Linked DNA regions of Homo sapiens: all the other regions are linked to region 3. The links are contacts of gene promoters, found by promoter capture Hi-C in blood cells and fetal thymus (Javierre and others, 2016). All regions are on one chromosome and are shown on one strand. Each heading gives the region's core, a stretch centred on a gene start or on the middle of the fragment in contact. The rest is flanking DNA. Distances are from core to core; before and after follow the strand shown.

Region 1 (3,785 bases), core at 827-3,326, 190 kb after region 3:
AAGGATGGTTGAACTGTTTTCTCTTTCTGCTTGTTTTGATTTTTAATGAACAAACTGTGAGAAAGAACACTTAAATAATGAAAGCTTACTTTCATATTTATCATAATTTACCTTAAAAATTCATTATAAATTGAACTACAGAAAAAGCCAAATATAAACATTTACAAGGATTAATCAAGTTATATTTTGAGACTACTAAGCAACCTCAATAAATGTGAAATAACATCAGCAGTTTATGTATTCTTATTTTCAAGAAAAGGAGAATCTTACACTAAGTGTTAAATGTTTCCTACAGATTTATCAATGATAAAAGGTGCCAATTTCAGAATAGATAGAACAATACCTGAGAATTTTGTCTTGCCACAAAATTTTCACCTGTCTGTCTTCAAATGTTCATTCCCTGGTCTAGTGTCTGTATTTCAGCCACATCTCCTGCTGTGTCTCCTCCAAGGTTGGTTTTGGGTCCTGCCTTCACTTCTGTGAACCTATCACTGTGCTCTGCTTGTTCTAAACGATTACAGTTAACTGTAGCCATACTTATTTATAGAAGATGCTGTATGGTACTAATACTGATAGTTTAAATATATTAAATCTCTTCATTTCCAGATCTACTTTTTTTTTTCCCAACAAGTTTTCCTTACCAAAAATCACAAAAAAGCTGGTTTTCATCAAGTCATGCACTGATTTGCATCTATTCTAAATGCTTATTCCCCTGCCTCCCCCCGTCACCACCGAAAAAGGTTTAGATTCCTTCCCTAGCTTAAAAGTTTAGATTGGAAACTCAGTATAAAAAGTTTTCTGCAGTGTGGAAGAGTAGAATTTAGTATAAAATGGATACATTTAGATTCGTTATGAAAAGAGATTTAGAAATGCCTAAGTATCCCAAAGAGCTCATTGTCCAATGCAGACAAAAAACACAGCTCTTTGCTTATAAAACCTTAATAGTGGTTTCCCTTGCAGGCCCTTTCACAAATGTTTTATCCACTTGAATATGCTGTTTTAAGATAATTTTCTGAAAATAATTGCTGTGATAGCTCATAAAAGCCACAGTGCTATTTGATGTATTAATTGAATCTTTTTATGCTTTAAGAAGCTGCATATGTATTTCTTCAATTACTTGTTACAGCTCATGTTCTAATTTCTAGATCACAAAAGGCTTACTATAAGTATCCTAACCAAATGTTTTACTGTTTGTTTTGCTCCAAAGACCACACAAGTAAAAGAAATTGATGCAATCTTCTAAAATATAGTAGCAATAGTTTATGTAACCCCTACATCATGCATAGTAATTCTTTGATTGCTTCAAGTTAGTGGGCTATAGAGTGACTAGGCTTCTGAAAATGACTTTAAGGGTACCTGACTAGATTGCTCAATTCTCACATTCAAATTTGCTTCTGTCTGTTGTTCAGATAATGCCGTGTCTTTTGGGTTCACCTGCCACTAATCTTTAATCTCTCGCTCTTTGTTTTTTAGACCGAGTCTCCTTCTGTTGCCTAGGCTAGAGTGCAGCGGTGTGATCACGGCTCACTGCAGCCTTGACCTCCTGGGCTCAGGTGATCCTCCTGCCTTAGCCTCCCACGTAGCTGGGATCACAGGCACACACCACCACACCTAGCTAATTTTTAAAAAATTATTTGTAGGGATGGGGTCTCCCTATGTTGCCCAGGCTGGTCTCTAACTCTTAGGCTCAAGTGATCCTCTCACCTTGGCCTCCCAAACTGCTGGGAATACAGGCATGAGCCATTGTGCCCAGCCTACTGTTTGTTTAATCTTGCCTAAAAATGGCAGTGAGATATTTTATTATATACTCTTAAAACACTGTAGAAAGTCTTAGCTGCCATAATCAAGAAAAGTTAAGTGTGGGGGATGGGGGGCAGGAAAGCTGATTAATACACAGAATTAAGAAAAATTACACGTCAACTTTAACGTAACAAAACACTTGTATATAGCTATATTTTAAAGTTAGTTAGATAAAGACCTAATTTTTACGTGTCTGTTGGCTGGGGTTCCATATTGTATTTCTTACATAAACCACACCCATGATGACCTACAGCAGAGGTTGGCAAACCTTTTCTGTCAAGGGCCAGATAATATTTTAGACTTTGTGGACCTGTGATAGAGTCTCTGTTGCAAGTAGTCAACTGTGCTGTTGAAGCACAAAGGCAACCATAGGCAATATGTAAACAAATGGGCATGGCTATCGCTCCACTAAAACTTTTATTCACAGAAACAGGCAACAGGCCCTAGTTTGCTGAACCCTCATCTATAATTTTGATTGCTTTAGAATGGAGCAAGAAAGATATTAAGAACACTTATAATGCAATTTGAGTACAGAATCCTTTTAGACTTTTTTCAGTTGTTTTCACCCATATCTAATTCACAATCCCTATTTTTTGAGTGATTTGCCTTTGGCTTTCATAGAAAGAGCGGCTTTCTCCTTCATGTCAGTTTATGAAACATTAAATTGCAGAAATACAATAACTGGCATAAACAGGTTTGGGGACAGAATCAACTCTTGGTAAGCAGACAATTCAACCGATGGGAGCAATATTCATGGGCCTACCAGAATGCAGCCTACTAGTCAAAAGTATGCAGCAGCTGTGGACATCAGTCAGTATATTTTCCACAGAAAATGAAGACCATCTCTAATCTGGTGAGTTGGGTAAATGAAAGTTTAAGAGAGCTTCTGCTGTAGTATACTTCTGTAAAAAAATCCAAAAAACTAAAACTATGATTATAGTTGAATGTTTTCACATAACATAACATGAAAAATAACATATATAGAGTTTATTTTAAAACTGAGAAATCTGATACTCTGATTTGGGATCCCTTTTTACAGATATTTTAGATGTCTATCACATAATATGAACTCTACTAAGTTTTAGAATTAAAACCCATCAATTTATAAAATATTCACAGTAAATGACAAAAAGAGGATAAATGCAAAGTAACAACATAGAACAGTCTAAATGATAAGAACTTGATGAAACTGCCGAAGTAAAACTATTTTTTCATCCCCAAATCTGATCCATGACCATGGGACAGGGGGATCTCTTTCCCAGGATTGTAATCTTACGGATAAAAACTGTCTCTTAAATCTACAAAACCAAAGTTATTGCTATTTAAGCAGCTTAAAATACCACACTATTACTTATGGTTTACCAAATAATCAAGTCTATACCTCTAGATTGAAGGAGGTCAACTTCTTTCAGTGTACAGTCAACATTTATCTGGAGTTGTCTGTTCATGCTTCTCAATCTTGTCATTTCCTCAGGCTAGTAAGAAAGGACCCAAAATAGCAATTGTGGGAAAGTCATTATCAAGCCCAACATTTAAGAACTGCGTTTCATGTTAATTGTAATGATTGGGTATTACCAAGAATACGGCCTTAGTCCATAAGAGGGCATGTTTAAGAAGTCCTATGTATATGTTTTTAAAGGAATAGTCGGGTAAAATGGGGACATCAAAATGGCCACATATAAACAAAATCTGCATATAAAGTGGCGAGCTGCAGTAGTGGACTGTGTTCTACCATACAAGATACTACCGTTTTAATCATAGAGCACTGAGAATATTTTGTGTCTATGTTTTCATGGTAAGGGAAACTGTAAGAATCAACCTGTTAAACGAGTCATGTCCATGATCTTAGTCTTGTCCAGCCTGGTAAAAATTACAACAGTACGGTGTTTACCAGAATTCTCTCATTCCTTCTTCTTAACAATCCTTTAAGGTAGGTACTAATATTGTGCCCAGTTTATAGATGAGGAAACTGAGGCACAGAGAGG
Region 2 (3,280 bases), core at 427-2,926, 210 kb after region 3:
TTCACATAGGGAGCTAAAGGTGTGTGGTGAGGTGGAAGACTGAGAGGGAAGGAAAAAATAATTCTTGTACAAATAAGTTAGCTGTTTAAACACACAAGAAGAAAATGCCTTTTTAAAAAATGGTTATAAATACTTTCCTTTGAAGAAACATGTTAAAGCATCTTTCAAATGGAAGCCAACAGCTTACAAAAATGGCTACCATCTGAAAAGATGATTAATAGTAGACTGACTTTTCACAACAAATAGGAATCTAAACTGGTAAACACATATCCTTCTTAAGGGATTATGTATGTAATCTTAATAGTGGTTAGCACTCTGCCCTGTACAAACATTCACTCACATCAGCGCTAACTGACATGAATAATCATTTAGTATTTCACAGTAATATATAACACTCTCAAACTTAATTTTTTGATAACTATATCATGTTAAAATACTTTAAAAAAGCAACTTCCATTTTGTTCACTGGGAGGCTTTCTGTTTACAAACAGAAAATATTCCAGCCAATAAATTAAGTCAATGATACAGTTTGGATGTTTGTCCCCTCCAAATCTCATGTTGAAATGTGATTCCCAATGTTGGAGTTGGGGCCTGATGGGAGGTGACTGGATGATAGGGGCAGAGCCCTTGTAAATGGTTAAGCACCATCCTAGGTGAGTCCTTGTTCCATTCACTCAAGATCTGATTGTTTAAAACTCTAGGACCTCTCCCTCACCCGCCTTGCTCCCGCTTTTGCCATATTACATGCCTGCTCTTGCTTCACCATCTGCCATGATTGTAAGCTTCCTGAGGCTCTCACCAGAAGCTGGGCAGATATTGGTGCCATGCTTATGCAGCCTGTAGAATCCTGAGCCAATTAAACCTCTTTTCTTTATAAATTACCCTGCCTCAGGTGTTTCTTTACAGTGACATAAGAATGGCCTAATATAGTCAGTTTCCTTTAAAAACACAAAGTTTTACAGTAAAGTATTATGCTGTACTTTTGTATTTAATCCAATAGAAACAAAATGAAAACACTGTCATATAGTGTCATATTATAGATGTGGCTACCATGCAGATCAAAGCATATAATCTATTCTTGTCCAAATATATCAATGTAGGCAACAACTACTAAGCAAAATACACATTGAGTTTGTTTCTTAACATTATAATGGGCTATTTTTTATACAATAAGTGCTGAATGATGATTTGTCACTTTAAAGCCAGACAGAGGACTCAAGCAGTATCTAAGCTGTACAGGCTAGGCTCAGGCATGACCAAACTCCTGGGACACCCTTGAAACACCCCCACTAAAGTCCAGATGGCCACAGCTGTGGATTGTGGAGCTGTGTAGGCGGTAACCCTAGATCAAGAAAGAAGAAACACTAAAGACATAAACCCTATGATCATCACACAGTTCAGGGGCCACATGAACCAAGAGATTCTGCAGAGTTTTAAGCCTTTATTGCATGTCAGCTTTGTGAGGATTCTTTTCTTAAAGGCAAGACAGACTATGGGGCCCAGATGCTATGCTTAGCAGTGGAATCAGAGGCTTCCTTCAGTGGTGCAGCCACCTCCCTAATTCAAGACTGCTGGTAACACAAGGCACAGTGGTTTCTGTTCCTGAAAAATCAATTGCTAGGATGTCTCCCAACAGAATTGCTCCTCCCAATCAGAGAGGAAGCTCCCCCAGAGCTCTGCTCTAATGCCACAATTCCCCACACTCTAGAAAATGATGTCGACATCTAGTGCTTTGTTTCCACAGTTTTTCCTGAGCTCAGCAAATAAACAGGGTGGTGCCATTATGGCCCAGAGTGTTTTACCTCTGTCAGAATTTTAGGTCACTTCCTGAAACAGTTATATCAGAGGTTGCAAACCAATGGTCTGTGGAATGAATTCAGCCCACAGATCTGCCTGGTTTGGCCATCACAGTGTGTGTGTGTGTGTGTTTTTTTTTTAAAGTTGAGCTACATTTAAAACTGGGAGACATCACATAAAAATGTACATATCTAGCTTTTCTCTGAAAAATCACGTGATCTAGCAACTGCAGGCAACAACTGGCTGAAACTAAGGCACCACTCCCCTTTTAGGAAGGACAGTTTGCCTAGTTCCTATACTCCGTAGCTGATTCCAAACACTGCAGCCTGGCCTTGCTTCACTCATCTAGATACCTGCTGGGTTTGTGACACCTGAAATGTGTTCTGCAGAAAGGTTTAAAGATACAATGGTAAGTATCAGTGTACTCTAGTGTGTCTCAACGGCATACTATTGATGCAATAATTTTGGAGCACAAGAATTCCTCGTCATGCAAGACTATCCCAGGCAATGAAAGGTATTTAGCATTCTGGCCCCGCCCATAAAATCTCAGTAGCACCCCCAAGTGGCCTCTAGAGAGGCAATACTTTCTTGGGCTGACAGCCACTGCTAGCATATTAAGGTAATGAGGTGAGTGAGCATTTCCCAGGTTTGAAGAAAAGTTAGCCTTGTCTTGAGAGAACTTTTAGGATTGCAAAATAAAAGAATCATTAATTTTTCTGGTTGGTCTGGTCCAGTAATAATTGTTGAACAAAACACAGTATGTATATGAGTATAAAGCTTTCAAACTTTCATCTATTTTTTTGCTGCTTTGGAGGTTTTGATTTTAGATCATATTTACTGAGCCGTATCTGAGTATCAAGTACTGTGCTAAGTGCTTTACCTCATTTAATCCCTAAAATACTTCCATGAGAGAGGTAATATTATCATCCACGTTTTACAAATAAGGAAACTTGAAGTTCAGAGAGGGCAAATAAATTGCCTGTGGTTACACAGTCAACCAGTAGCAAAGCTAGGATACAAATTTAAGGTTATGCTCTTAACCATTATTCTTCTGTACTACTGGCTACCTGGTAAGACTCTGATGATGTCATAACTCTTAACAACAGTTTAAAGCAAACCTTGCTTTTAAAACAGAAGAGTTTTTGTACTACAGTGTGAATTCTTCAAGTTAAACAGTAACAAAAAGTGGCTGATATTGAGGCATAACAAATGGTCTTTTACTGGCAGAGATAAGAGTTCCATTTTCAGGATTTTTCATGCATATATGTAAAGGTGCTACCAAATAACAAGGGGGAGAGGAATACGATAGTTATTATTTCCCCTAAATAAGCCTTCTAAATAATTTATGAAACAGTCATCCTATAGGATTTTTATTACAGTAGAGACCATTTTGAAATAGTCACATATTCACTGCATCTATCTCATATTCTGTAAGTCTCAAGAGATATACTATGAGACTGAAATAATATTAAAATAATCCACA
Region 3 (3,329 bases), core at 183-2,682:
AAGCAGGCTTCATCTGGAACATTAGAATGTGAGGTCTAGACGGTGTTTAGGAAAATTTGCTTTCAGATCATGTGTGGTAAAACTATACAAACAGAGATGGACAAGTGACGTGGTGTAGAGCAAGGTAAGAAAGGAAAAAAAAAAAAAAGGAAAAGAAATGATGTTCCAGAACACAGAGATTTGGGAAAGGGATGGAAAGAAATGACAGTGGGTATAGCGGAGTGCTTTTAAAATTGATAGAGAGCATGGTGGGTTACAAAAGCAATTTAGTGATTTTCAATCAGCATTAAAAAAAAATGATATGCCATAGAATAAAAATACAGAATGCATACTGTGGAAGGACAAATATTGTTTTGGAAAGTTTTTCTATACATACATAAATGTATATTAGATGTATATAACATGTATTTACATGTGTAACAATTGTAACTACAAATGTGCTCCCCGCCCACACACACTGGAGCCTGGGTTTGTTTTGTAAACTGTTTCACAGTGTGGGTCTTGGTTCCAAGTTTGAAAGCCCTTAGAACACAGGATCCAGAAGGATCCGGGCAAGGTAAATTCAAGGTCAAGGGAGAGTCCCTTTTCTGTCCCCTGCCATCCAAAGCAGTTAATGGAGGGAGAGGAAATGGCGTGTGGGGGAGGGGACCGCAGAGTGAGGCCAAACGAGGAGCAAGGGCGCGTCAGGACGGAGTGGTGCCGGGCGCCTTCTGCCTGAATGGTCGATAGAGGAACTTGGGGAGGTTGATTTTGGGTGCTTTCCTTAAATGCTAAACCGAAAGAACTTCCGCGTTTCTTGTCCCTGAAAAGCTTGCAACGGTGAAGGATTCGCGTTGCTCCTTGAGGTGACCCTATATGGGGTCAATCCCAGCCAAAGGAATGATTACGATTACCAGGGGCCAGATGCAGGGAGGTGGGCGGGGCGTGGGAAACGCGGGAAGGCCGGGCCGGGTAGGTCCACACAGCGACTCACGTCGCTGCACGACTCTGCACAGCCCACTGGAGGGAACAAGCAGTTCTACACACTTTGAGACCCCTATGGAGGCGAGCCCCAGGACACTAGTGGAAGTGCGCTCTTTTCGCCGGCCAGGAGCGCTGCCTGCCAAAGGGCAGTACTCGTCTCCGCCCCATGCCATGCAGCTGGATGGCTCTGCTGTCCGCTCGCCGGGCCCCCACGTGACCTACTGCGCGGGCCGCCGCCTCCACCGCGCCCAGGCCCCGCCCCCGTGACGTCTCATCGCCCTCTGCCTGTCCGAGCGTTCGGCTCTTTTGCGTTTGCTGATTGGCCAGCCCAGGTGACAGCGCCCACCCCCACCCCCCCTGACACGCCCCTGGAGCCTTGGGGGTACGCGGTGGGGGGCGGGGCCTGGGCCGGAGGGGCGGGGTGAGAAGGCTGCGCGCGGGTAAAGGGGCCGCCTCGAGCGCGGTCCGAGCGTTCAGCGGACGCGCGCGGCCTCGATCTCTGGACTCGTCACCTGCCCCTCCCCCTCCCGCCGCCGTCACCCAGGAAACCGGCCGCAATCGCCGGCCGACCTGAAGCTGGTTTCATGGCAGCCTCAAAGAAGGCAGTTTTGGGGCCATTGGTGGGGGCGGTGGACCAGGGCACCAGTTCGACGCGCTTTTTGGTGAGCCCGGGGTGACATGTGAAGAGGCGCTGAGCCGGGGCGGGAGTCGGGGGACGGAGGGGGTGGCTGTTGTGTCCCCATCCCGCATCTCTCCGGCCCGGTGCCCCGGCCGCTGGGCAAGGAGGGAGGCCGGAACGGGACCTGCCACACTGGGGATGCCCCAGCCAGGCCTGGGGGACCTCGGCCTCTCATGACCCCCATGGCCGAGTTGAACAGTCGCAGTTTTGGTGGCGGAGCTGGGTCACCTACTAATGGGGTGACTCTTCCCCCAAAGGGAGCAGGGACTCTCCGAGCATCCGCGCAGAGCGGCCCGCTTGCAGTAGGGGACAGGTGGCCACATTGACGGCTACCGCGGTCTTCCCCAGGAACATTTGGCCTGCGAGACACAGGACGTCCTTGGATGGGGGGAAAGCTGTGTCACGGCTGTGGTAGCTAACACAGCGTCCTTTCCAGCAGTAGAACGAATAAAGTATTGGAGTGATGATGCGTTGTCATCCTCTCCCATAAAAATTGCAGAGGGTTGAATACTGGGGAGGGTGGCAGAACAAATTAGGAAACAGTCACACTACACTGGTTTTGCCATAATCTTTATTTAATTCCGAAGACTCGCAAATTTCAGTTCTGAGACTTTGCCCATTACAAACAAATGATTGTCCTTACTGTGCTTCACAGCATAATGCGACACGGAAATTCTGTTTCTCTTTTTATTTACCATGTGTGACAGCACAGTTTTACCACAAAAGATTGCTATTTAAGTGACTGCTGATTAATTTTTGTGCAATTAGTAAACTTGCTCTTAAAGTGACCTAGCACAGAGTTCAGTAAGATAATTTAAAAGTAATTGAGGCCGGGCGCGGTGGCTTACACGTGTAATCCCAACAGTTTGGGAGGCTGAGGCGGGTGGATTACCTAAGGTCAGGAGTTCGAGACCAGCCTGGCCAACCTGGCATAACAAAAATTAGCTGGGCGTGGTGGCGGGCGCCTGTAATCCTACTTACCCGGGAGGCTGAGGCAGGAGAATCACTTGGACCCGGGAGGCGGAGGTTGCAGTGAGCAGAGATCACACCACTGCACTCCAGCCTGGGCAATCCAGCCTAGCCAACAGAGCGAGACTCTGTCTCAAAAAAATAAAAATAAATAAAAAATAAATAAAAGTAATTGAAATGAATGCCTGCTGATAAAAGCCCATGCTTTCAATGGATATTTGACTAACTTGGCAAGTTGATGTAAATATTTAATGATTATTTAGCTCTTCACTTTACCGCAAATCATGTTTTCCTGTGTTATTTAGTATGTATATATCTGTACATATATACACATATGTGTATATTTATACATAGGCATTATACATACAATGTATATATTTTTTCAAAGTTCTGTCAGAGCTGGCACTTGACTAAAAACTGCATTTGTGCTTTGATCCTGACATATCTTTTTTTGTCTAAAGTGAGAAGCTTTCAGTCTAATTTTGGTTTGAATCTTATTTAATGACTTACCCTGGTTTGAGCTGCCAAGCATAGTTCCACTGTCTCTTGCACTGTTTATCTTTTGATCACCCAGGGCAGGTTTCACTTTGTCTTATATTCATAGAAATGTTTATAGAGTAATCCTGAATCATAAGAAAGTTTGCTTAACTGGATTTGATTAATACATAATATACACGATCATCATCTTCCCAACTTAAGAAAGACCATTAAGACATGT

Evidence for each region. The method cuts DNA at HindIII sites, captures the fragments that hold promoters and counts their contacts. A CHiCAGO score of 5 or more calls a contact.
Region 1: a fragment that was not itself captured here is called in contact with the fragment with the promoter of GK in region 3 in 2 of 17 cell types (total CD8 T cells and non-activated CD4 T cells); the score reaches 5.3 in total CD8 T cells.
Region 2: a contact is called between a fragment that was not itself captured here and the fragment with the promoter of GK in region 3, in 1 of 17 cell types (naive B cells). The highest score is 6.0, in naive B cells.

The regions. Positions count from the first base shown.
Region 1 is chrX:30,843,370-30,847,154 of GRCh38, forward strand. It overlaps TAB3 (TGF-beta activated kinase 1 (MAP3K7) binding protein 3), which reads right to left. Exons shown (of 11, transcript NM_152787.5): 8 at 3,182-3,275. Among named protein-coding and RNA genes, the nearest start is that of TAB3-AS1, 11 kb to the left of the region's middle. The HindIII fragment of the contact is 3,989 bases long and covers 83-3,785 here.
Region 2 is chrX:30,862,877-30,866,156 of GRCh38, forward strand. The region is part of intron 4 of TAB3 (TGF-beta activated kinase 1 (MAP3K7) binding protein 3); the gene reads right to left. Among named protein-coding and RNA genes, the nearest start is that of TAB3, 25 kb to the right of the region's middle. The HindIII fragment of the contact is 1,792 bases long and covers 781-2,572 here.
Region 3 is chrX:30,651,991-30,655,319 of GRCh38, forward strand. It overlaps GK (glycerol kinase), which reads left to right and starts at 1,433. Exons shown (of 21, transcript NM_001205019.2): 1 at 1,433-1,625. The coding sequence starts at 1,548. RefSeq lists a silencer at 1,103-1,522. The HindIII fragment of the contact is 2,269 bases long and covers 809-3,077 here.